3 separate regions of the Homo sapiens genome follow, and all the other regions are linked to region 3. The links are contacts of gene promoters, found by promoter capture Hi-C in blood cells and fetal thymus (Javierre and others, 2016). All regions are on one chromosome and are shown on one strand. Each heading gives the region's core, a stretch centred on a gene start or on the middle of the fragment in contact. The rest is flanking DNA. Distances are from core to core; before and after follow the strand shown. Region 1 holds the start of DENND5B-AS1 (DENND5B antisense RNA 1). Region 2 holds the start of LOC124902913 (a long non-coding RNA gene). Region 3 holds the start of DNM1L (dynamin 1 like).

Evidence for each region. The method cuts DNA at HindIII sites, captures the fragments that hold promoters and counts their contacts. A CHiCAGO score of 5 or more calls a contact.
Region 1: the fragment with the promoter of DENND5B-AS1 here is called in contact with the fragment with the promoter of DNM1L in region 3 in 1 of 17 cell types (erythroblasts); the score reaches 7.6 in erythroblasts.
Region 2: a fragment that was not itself captured here is called in contact with the fragment with the promoter of DNM1L in region 3 in 2 of 17 cell types (total CD8 T cells and fetal thymus); the score reaches 8.3 in total CD8 T cells.

Annotation. Positions count from the first base shown.
Region 1 is chr12:31,588,058-31,591,631 of GRCh38, forward strand. It overlaps DENND5B-AS1 (DENND5B antisense RNA 1), which reads left to right and starts at 1,866. Exons shown (of 3, transcript NR_046909.1): 1 at 1,866-2,062. It overlaps DENND5B (DENN domain containing 5B), which reads right to left and starts at 3,079. Exons shown (of 21, transcript NM_144973.4): 1 at 2,649-3,079. The coding sequence starts at 2,775. RefSeq lists an enhancer at 1,600-1,679 and silencers at 2,110-2,449, 2,600-2,869, 2,940-3,229. The HindIII fragment of the contact is 7,998 bases long and covers 1-3,574 here.
Region 2 is chr12:31,650,608-31,653,953 of GRCh38, forward strand. LOC124902913 (a long non-coding RNA gene) reads right to left here and starts at 1,451. Exons shown (of 2, transcript XR_007063269.1): 1 at 1,129-1,451. It also overlaps a transcript of ETFBKMT not described here. RefSeq lists a silencer at 2,441-2,500 and an enhancer at 2,631-2,840. The HindIII fragment of the contact is 369 bases long and covers 1,878-2,246 here.
Region 3 is chr12:32,677,256-32,680,748 of GRCh38, forward strand. It overlaps DNM1L (dynamin 1 like), which reads left to right and starts at 2,046. Exons shown (of 20, transcript NM_012062.5): 1 at 2,046-2,210. The coding sequence starts at 2,109. RefSeq lists a silencer at 2,194-2,603. The HindIII fragment of the contact is 13,395 bases long and covers 1,290-3,493 here.

The DNA of each region.
Region 1 (3,574 bases), core at 616-3,115, 1.1 Mb before region 3:
TCTCTTTGATCTTACCTACTACTCTCCCTCTCCCTCAGCTCCAGCCATACTGGACTCCTTGCTGTTACCAGCACAAACTAGTGACTGTCCCACTCAGGGTCTTCGCACTTGCTGTTTCTTCTGCGTGCAATGCTGTGCCCCCAGGTGATCCATCTGGCCTGCTTCCTCATGTCCTTCAAGGCTCTGTTCAAATGTCACCCTCCCTGTGAGGCCTTCCCTAACCATCTTATTTAAAATCACAACCCCACCATCCCACCACTCTGCTGGCATGTCCCTAAATCCACTCCCCTGCTTTATTTTTCCTCATAGCACTTATTAACATCTGGAGAACTATATACAGTCGGCACTTCACGTGGACTCCGCATCCACAGATTCAACCAAGCACAGATTGAAAATGTAGTTAGGCCTACAATGGTTGCATCTGTACTGAACATGTACAGACTTCTTTTCTTGTCATTATTCCCTAAACAATACAGTATAACAACTATTTACATAACATTACAACGTAACAGGTATTGTAAGTAATCTAGAGATGACAAAGTGTACAGGAAAATGTTCATAGGTTATATACAAATGCTACAACATTTTATTATAAGAGACTTCAGCATCCGAGGATTTTGGTGTGGGGGACACTCTAGAATCCATCCCCCATGGTTACGGAGAGATGATTGTATTTTCATTATCTCTTTACACTAGAACGTATGCTCCATGATGGCAGGGATTTCTGACTGCTTTCTTCACAGCTGTCCCCAGTGCCTAAAAAACCGACTACAGATAGATGCTTTCAAAACTGTTGGATGAATGATACTGAAATATTACAAGGCAAAATACATTATTACCTGAATACATTAAATATTATGAGAAGCAGAAATCCCAATCACCCACACTCACACAGTTTTGCAAAAAGAGACATCATAGTTTGTTTCTTAAAAATGCATTAAAGTCTAATTGATGGTTTTGTTAACATCATTCTCTCTGTGCCTAAAGAGTCCTAGGTCACACCTAAAAGGTACAGTTTTAGCTTCAGTAGGCAAACGGAAAAGAAAAATACAGGCTTTTTTCCTTTCATTAGTCATCACTGACAGAAGGCCTCCAAGTGACCCTGGTGCCACAAATGTTTAGGATCTTTAGGGAAGAAAGGAGTCTAGAAAAATAACAATATTCCTTCACCAATCTCGAGAAGAATCTCTCCAAATCTCTCTGCAGACATTTTTTCTTCATATCCTTTAACAAAGCCATTCTTAACATGTACATGAAATCTTAGTTGAAGAAACAATGTGATTACATAATTACACATACGGAAAAACTTGGTATTCTATTATCTCTCCAAATTTTTTTTTAACTAAAACTAGACTTACAGTTTTTGTTGAAAATGTTTTGTGTTTCTACCTCCGAAGAATATGAAAAAAAGAAAATGTTTTGCTCTGAAGCTGAGTTAAGAAGAAGATAGCCAAGACGTGGGTTGATGGGGACTGTATTTTAAGGCTGAACAGTTTTGTTTACTATTGTTTATTATTTAATATATTCTTCCCAGTCTCCCCACCCCCACCAAAGGAAAAGCGAAAAATTTACGTTAGTGCAATCAATAAGGAATTATTTGTCCAAAGGAAGTTGTTCTGAAAGGCTATGACCTAAGTCTTTAACACAAAGTTCAGGCGGTAGATGTCACTTCTCTCACCCATTTAACAACAACAACAAATCAAGATTCAGATCCCGCGGAGGCAAGCAGAAAGGAACAGGCGTGAAAAATGAAATCAGTTGTTTCTCCCCGGCCTCCTCTCGACACTGCGCACTCCGCTGCCCTGCCCCCGCCCATCGCCCTTTAGCGGCCCCTTTTAACGGCGTCGTTTGCCCAGCACAGCCCCGCACTGCGCCATCAAATGAGTCAAGCGGAAGGACCGGTACCCCTCCGGGAAAACCAGGCACTAACACACGGTGCACCCAACTGAATTTAAACTCGGGAACAGTGTAGGCAGTGTCAACAAAGCGCGGTGCTGGGTCCCGAGCGTCCAAAGGTCCCTGCCAGCTCCCAGACGCGGCCAAATCCACAGGATTCCAAAAGGTGACTTGGCCGGCACCGCAGAGCGGCAGGCGGCGCAGAGGGCAGAGTCCGACCGGTCCCCGCCCCGCGCTCGCTCCGCACGGCCACCGGCTCCTCCGCGGACGCTACCCCGGCGGGAGCCGAGCTGAGTCCGACTCCCCGTCTCCCGAAGAGGCCCGAAAGCCGCGTCACGTGCGGGGCCGAAACTTCGCGGCCGGGGCCGGGTGGCTGGCGGGTGGGAGGCAGGCACGGCGGTCGGGGGGCAGCCCGCGCGCCCGGTGACTCACCGGCCGCCTCCGAGTGCGGCTGCAAGCGAAGGGGCCGGCGCGCCAGGCGGGGTCCGTGCCCTTGGGGCCACCCCCGCGCCTGTTATTAATAACCCAGCGCCTGGAGGCGAAAGCCCCGGTGGGCGCAGCCGCAAAGCCCGCACGCGGAATAAATAACAATGTCATTAAATCGCGCCCGAGCGCCAGTTCGGCCAGAAAGCGGCGGGAGGGCGCCACCGGGAGCTGACTTTGTCTGGAGCCTGCACCCCGCCTCCCGCGCGTCCCCACAGCGTCCCCCGCGCCCCTGAGGGGGCTCAGCGCCGCCGCAGCCCTGGCCTTACCCGCCAGCTCGTCAGGCTCCAGCCCGCTGTCCGCGTCGATCCCGCACAGCACGAAGTAGTGCGCGAAGCGGCAGGCGGCCGGGGAGGAGCCCGAGCCCGGGCCGGGCGCCGCGCAGCTCCCGCTCATCCCGGCCGCGCTGCTCCAGGGGCCGCCGCCGCCGCCGCCCGGGAAGGCTTTCTGCGGAGGCTGCCACCACCGCTCCGGCTGTGGTCTGTGCGCCCGCCCTAGGGCGACACTGGCGCGCCCATGGCCGCGCAGCCGCCTCTCGCCGCCGCAGCCTGCCTCCTCGCTCGGCGCGGGGGAAGCGGCCGCGGGCTCGCGCGCGGCGGGTCCGGAGCCCGGCCGGGTGGGGGAGGGGCGCGGGGGGAGTGTCGGCCTGAGAGGCCCTCGCAGCCGCAGCTGCGCTCGCGAGCTGAGAGCCGCCGCGTCTGGCGCCCGCGGGTCAGCTGAGCGGCGCTCGGGCTGTGGGAGCGCGGGGCGGGCGGGGGCGCCGGGGCTCGGCGCGTGCGACGGAGAGGGGTGGGGGGCGCGCTCGCGAGGGACGGAGGCGCGCGCTTCTACCGTGCGCGCGCGCCTAGCGGGTTCGGAGGCCAAGCCTGGCGTGGGGCCGCATTCGTGCCCACTGGCCCCGGCTGCGGCATCGAGGGCGACCCTGCACACACCCCTCCTCGCCCTGGCCAGCCGATAAGAGGGCTAGCCTCAGTGTGGGGGTCTGTCTTCTAAAGGGGTTGTCACCCATCCTTATTTCTTTTAATGCAGCTTTGGGGAAGGTGAACAGCCGCTCTGAGATCATTTCGCATAACGGTCTGAACCATCGTCTTTTAAACTGTGACCTGTGTGGGGGTGCCTGTCTCACTTTAAGGTCCTCCCTTCCCCCAGCCGTCACCCCATTTACAGGCCATCCTTAGTGACTTAGTGACAAGTC
Region 2 (3,346 bases), core at 812-3,311, 1.0 Mb before region 3:
AAGATTGAAATGACCTGACCTTTTTTTTTTTTTTTAAAGAATCACTCTGGCTTTTCTGTTGAGAAGAGACCAAAGGAAGCAAGGAGGGATAAGGAGGTTAGTTCAAAGACCTTTGCAATGAAAGAGTTAAGGACGTGCCACCCCCAAATATGCCAGTTTGGCATACTGATTATTTCAAGCTGAAGGTACTTGAGAGACTGTCATTGCAGGAAGAGCTAGCTCACTGTTTCACAGTGGACAGGGTCTATGCAAACCTGCGGCCAAGGAAGCTGAGAGGTGGAAGAAAGAGGCTGACACATCCAGTTTCTTAGGAAGAAACGTTTACTAGGGACTTAGAACAGAAGCCATGTCTGTATCTCAGGAAGCAGTGAGACAAGATGGTGGATCCCCGCACCATTACCCCTCAAACCCAGGGCTTATATACCCCAGGAGAGGAGTGATTCAGAAGGGACGTGGAGAACAACTTAAGTATGATAACATCAAGGCCACTTGACCTAAGGGCAGGATTTACAGTCAGTACGTGCTCTTACACAAGGAACAATAGATAAACTGGAAGTCTTACAAGACTTCCTGGAACTGGCGTTAATCAGAAACCAGCATGGATTAGCATCCAGGATGGAGTTGCTTTGCCCTCCCCACTGACGTGTCCATTCCTACCTTTAGGAAGCCATAAAAATTCCTTTGAGAAAGATGCCTTCCCTTTTTTTTTTTTTCTTTTTTGAGACGGAGTCTTGCTCTGTCGTCCAGGCTGGAGTGCAGTGGCGCAATCTCGGCTCACTGCAACCTCCACCTCCCGGGTTGCAGTGAGGCAACCCGGGTTCAAGCAATTCTCTAGCCTCAGCCTCCCGAATAGCAGGGATTACAGGTGCGTGCCACCACGCATGGCTAATTTTTGTATTTTTAGTAGAGACGGGGTTTTACCACGTTGGCCAGGCTGGTCTGGAACTCCTGACCTCAGGTGTGATCTAGCCGCCTCCGCCTCCCAAAGTGCTGAGATTACAGACATGGGCCACCGCGCCCGGCCGATGCCTTCCTTTAGTAGAAAGAGAAAATAACCCTTATCTCCAGAGACTGGGAATTGATGCTACAATGGACCTATACAGATAAACTTACTAAACGAACACTTACCTTTCACTAGCTTTGCACTTCACTGATACAGGAGTTTAGAAGAAATCACTTAGGCAGATAGTAGGAGTATGGGAATCCTCAGTAAGGCTTTTCTTTTTCATGAAAAGCAGCCCCAAATCATTTTCTAACAAAGAGCATTCTGTAAAGCCGAGCTGCAGACACAGACAAGCAAGCTGGGAGCTTGCACGAGTGAACGCAGGGAGGAACTTCGGAGTACACATGTTCAAATTGGAGGCTCCATCTTCCCTTCCCTTTGTCAGCCACGTGTACTGTAAGGAGCAGACAAGATGGTGTTGATCAACTAGAAAGTCTATTTCCATAATAAGATTAGGGTGGGGTAACCAGGCTTCCCCTGCGCACAGTGTAAACGTCATACCTGATCAAACCAATCTATGAGCCCTATGTAAATCAGACACCGTCTCCTCAGACCTGACTATAAACTTCGGCGCATCCACTGCCGGCTGGTCCTTTCCACTCGCAGATCCATTTCTCTATAGAGAAAGCTGTTTCTCTTTCCCTTCTCTTCTGCCTATTAAACCTCTGCTCCTACACTCCTTGTGTGTGTCAGTGTCCTAAATTTTCCTGGCGCCTGACGACAAACCCCGGGTTTATACCGCAGACAGTGGTATGGTCCCTTCATCACCATATATCTCCTAGTGATTCCCCCGCAATTTACTGCCCCTAGTCCAAATCCCTTTGTCTTATCATTTCTTCATAAATTTATCATTTCTTTGTCCAAAAGGTATAAAAGCTTTCTGTTCTGGCCATTTTCTTCAGGTCGTCGCCCCTTTCATCTTGTGAGAGTCTTCATGTGCAAGTAAAAATTAGTAACACTTGTATGCTTTTCTGTTAATCTGGTTTATGTCCATTTAATTCTTAGACTTAGCTTTAGACGATCCCAAGGGAGTAGAGGAGAATTTATCCTCCCATCAGCAATAATCCAGGCTAGAGATGATGGTGATTTATATTAGAGGAAAGCAATGCAGGTGGTGAAAAGTGGTCAGATTCTGCATAGACAGTGTTTTGGATTTGCTAGTGGGTTAGTTGTGGAGTGTGCACGTGTGTGTGAGAGAAAGATTGAGAGAGAATGTGTTATAGATTATACCAAATCTTTCTTAAGCTTTAAGCCTGAACTATTTATGACCAATGATAAGTATTTCCATCATATCTTACAACTAAAGAAATGTGCCAGGCCGGTCGCGGTGGCTCATGCCTGTAATCCCAGCACTTTGGGAGGCCGAGGCCGGCGGATTGCCTGAGCTCAGGAGTTCGGAACCAGCCTGGGCAACACGGTGAAATCTCGTCTGTACTAAAATACAAAAAATCAGCCGGCCTTGGCGGCATGCGCCTGTAGTCCCAGCTACTCAGGAGCCTGAGGCAGGAGAATCGCTTGAACCCAGGAGGCAGAGGTTGCAGTGAGCTGAGATCGTGCCACTGCACTCCAGCCTGGGCTATGCAGCGAGACTCCGTCTCAAAAAAAAAAAAAAAAAAGGTACCAGTGTGTAGTAACATTGTGGGTGAGAATCTTTGCTCTTTATACATAACTGTTTAAGTTTCAGTTTTGTTTTTGCTTTTACTGTTTTAGCTGAAGCACACTTGGCCGATGTTAAGCTAAATTATCAGTAGATGGCACCACAGTCTTAGTTAGCTGAAGATTTCTGGGTTTTGCAGGGAGTGAGGATTCTAGTGTCAGTTGTCGGATGTTTAGGTGTGACTCAGTGACCTATGCTTAAAAGTTTGCCCGGTTACTAACTGAGGGAGCAACAAGTACAAACTGCAGATAGGGAATTGAAAAAAGGAAACACACAAATTTACACAGACACGGTGCCCATAGATTTGTTGCAAGGGCAGTTTGGTAGAGAGAAGCTAGAAGGAAGCTGAAGCTCCAGAAAACCCAAAACTACAAACTTCCTTCAAAAGTCTAGGGAGAGGCCGGGTGCGGTGGCTCAGGCCTGTAATCCCAGCACTTTGGGAGGCCGAAGTGGGTGGATCACTTGAGGCCAGAAGTTTGAGACCAGCCTGGCCAACATGGCGAAACCTGTCTCTACTGAAAATACAAAAAATTAGCTGGGTGTGGTGGCGGGTGCCTGTAATCCCAGCTATTGGGGAGGCTGAGGTGGGAGAATCACTTGAACCTGGGAGGCAGAGGTTGCAGTGAGCTGAGATAGCGCTACTGCACTCCATCCTGGGTGACAGAGTGAAACTCTGTCTCAAAAAA
Region 3 (3,493 bases), core at 796-3,295:
CCCCACCTCCCAAGCTTAGGTGATCCTCCTACTGCAGCCTCCCAAGTAGTTGGGGCCACAGGTATGCACCACCACGACAGGCAAGCTAATTTTTTTGTATTTTTTGTAGAGACTGGGTTTTGCCGTGTTGCCCAGGCTGGCCTTGAACTCCTGACCTCAAGTGATCTGCCCGTCTCCTGCCTCAGCCTCCTGAGTAGCTGGGATTACAGGAATGCACCACCACGCCCGGTTAATTTTTGTATTTTTAGTAGAGACGGGGTTTCTCCATGTTGGTCAGGCTGGTCTTGAACTCCTGACCTCAAGTGATCCGCCTGCCTTGGCCTCCCAAAGTGCTGGAATTACAGGCGTGAGCCACGGTGCCTGGCCTCTCCTCACCTGCTTTAATTCTTTACTCAAATGTCACCTTTTTACTTTGAGGTTTACTTTTACCTTTGGAGGTTTGGAGTAGAGGAGGGATACTATCTGTCTAAAAAGAAAAACAACATTTAGAAATATAACAGTATGGGCCGGGCATGGTGGCTCAGGCCTGTAATCCCAGGACTGTGGGAGGCCAAGATGGGCGGATCACTTGAGGTCAGGAGTTCGAGACCAGCCTGGCTAACATGGTGAAACCCCGCCCCCCACCCGTCTCTACTAAAAATACAAAAATTTTCCCAGGGTGGTGGCGGGTGCCTGTAATAACAGCTACTTGGGGGGCTGAGGCAGGAGAATCACTTCAGCCTGGGAGGAGGAGGCTGCAGTGAGCCGAGATTGCGCCACTGCATTCCAGCCTGGGCGACAGAGTCAGACTCTGTCTCAAAAAAAAAAAAGAACGGTATGAGCAAAGAGTGAGTAAGGCAGTTATCAGATGTCTACTTTGCCAGGAATCAGGCTACAGCAAATAAAGGTTTATACATAATATTGATAATAAATGCCCAGCTCTTCCCCTGTAAAACTCCAATACTCTAAGATTTTTTTCATGAACACCGCCCCCCGCTGCTCCGACCCCTGCTTTTTTATTTATTTATTTATTTATTTGGTAGAGATGAGGTCTCACTATGTTGACCAGGCTGGTCTCGAACTCCCAGCTCAAGCGATCCTCCTGCTTCTGCTTCCTAAAGTGCTGGGATTACACCGCGCTCGGTCCTGAACACACATTTTGTTTGTTTGTTTGTTTGTTTACAAAACCCCTGGAGAACCCGCGTATTCTAACCTGGGCTGGTTTTTGTATTTTTGCAAAATAACACCCCACACATTCTCGTATCAGCGTGCAGATTTTTTTGCACCCAGTTTGGTTGTTTGCGGCCATAAGCTTTTCTTTAAGCCTTTCCAACCCGTCCTTCTAGAGAAAGTGTCTTCATAAGGAAGTCACACTGCTCACGCCTGTAATCCCAACACTTTGGGAGGCCGAGGCGGGTGGATCACTAGGTCCGGAGATCGAGACCATCCTGGAAAACACAGTGAAACCCCGTCTCTACTAAAAATACAAAAAATTAGCCGGGCGTAGTGGTGGGTGCCTGTAGTCCCAGCTACTCCGAAGGCTGAGGCAGGAGAATGGCGTGAACCCGGGAGGCGGAATTTGCAGTGGGCCGAGATCGCGCCACTGCACTCCAGCCTGGGCGACAGAGTGAGACTCCGTCTCAAAAAAAAAAAAAAAATAAATAAATAAAAAATAAATAAAAGGAAGTGACACTGGATAATTAAGAGACACACCATTGCGCCTTTAACACATATTCACACCCAGCACTGTCACATCCATCGTGCCTTGAGGACAGGCATAAATTTACGGCCTTCCTCCTGCGCTCCCGGCCTGCTCCTAGCCTTTGACTAGAGCCTGCGCAGCATCCCAGTCCCAGGCTAGGGCCCACCGGTGCCGCGCAGCCTCCTGGAAGCTGTGGGGAGTAGCGTTCCTCCGCTCCAGAACTACAACTCCCAGCAGGCCTTGCTCCTCTCCACCTCCCTCGCAGCGCATGGCCTGCCGGGAGGGGGCAGGTAGCCGGCGGGCCCGGTCCAATGGGTGCCGGCTTCCGAGGAGAGGGCGGAGGAGAGGAGGAAGGAGGCGAACTGTGGGCCCCGGCCCCATTCATTGCCGTGGCCGGCGGGCACTGGGGCCCCGTGTTTTCAGAGTCATGGAGGCGCTAATTCCTGTCATAAACAAGCTCCAGGACGTCTTCAACACGGTGGGCGCCGACATCATCCAGCTGCCTCAAATCGTCGTAGTGGGAACGCAGGTGAGAGCAGCAGGCGGCGTTCGCTCGGGCCAGACCCCGGCCGCAGGCCTGGTCGGTGCTGCGGCAGTGCCCACTCCCGCGCCAGCGCCCACTCCCGCGCCAGCCTTTGGGGCCTGTGGGAGGAGGGCCTTGCTGGGGGCCCCAGGGCTCTCCGGGCTCTGCCGCACCCGCCCTCCCGGGGCAGCGTTGCATCAAGGCGGAGAATCCGGGGCCCGGCCAGGGGCGGAGCCGGCGCGGCGGGCCTGGCTAGCCCGGCGGGTCCCGGGGACAGGAGAGGGAAGGATGGGGCCGGCGGGCGGAACTGGAGTCCGCTGGGACCGGGCGCGGCCTCGTCCGCGTGCCGCTGCCTCCAAGGGCACCTGGGGGACGCGCGGGGCACTCGGGTCTCGCTGGGCTCGGTGGGCTGGCTGTTCCCATCACTGTTGGCTTTCGTGAGACGGGTGTTTTATTTCCCTCCTTGCCTTGCCCAGGGACTGCGGAGTTAGTTTTGGAATCGCTCTGTTGAGGCTGAGAGACGCTACGGTGCGTGAGCGCCAGTGTTTTCCTGCAGTATAATTCCACCAGGTTTCGAGAACGCCGAAGCAGCATTTTAAAAAAAGAAAAACAAAACGTGTATCTAGAGTTCTGCGGGTGTTGGGAAGGAATATCCGATTTTTCTGCGTAGGCTGTGCTTTTTGTCTTCCACAGTTTTGTGATCGTGACCTAAATTGGGCATCAGTTTCTCTGGTCTTCTCATAGCTAACTCATTTTTTTTTGAATGCAGAAATGTTGGCAAAATAACTGTTATTTCTAGAGTGACAGAGGAGAAGTATAATTTTCCTTTTCTCTGCTACTTCGATTAGAGTTCAGAGAAACGGATTTTAGAAATTAGTATATTGATATTAAGTGCTTTCATTTCTTAATAGTATCTTTTCTATTGAGAAGGAGCGGTTTCCCCATCATTTTCCAGGAGGTACATAGTATAGGGTATAAGTGCTATCAGAAGGAACTTACTGTTCAAAGTATTAGTGGCTATCCAAACACTGGAAACTATAGACACCCTGTACTCGTTTGTTTGTTTGTTTGTTTTTTTGGCTTTTAAATAGTTGAAGCAATAGAAATTGTTTTAGAAACACATTTCCTTGGTCTGCGATAGGATTGGGAAAGATTCTGCTCAATCTTGCCTACGTATTCTAGTATTTGTAACAATATTTGTAATGTTTGGAGACTCAGAAGCATCAAACAAATTACGAGGATTATTTTTTATTGAACATAATTTTGTTCAGTCTGGGACATATAGTAAG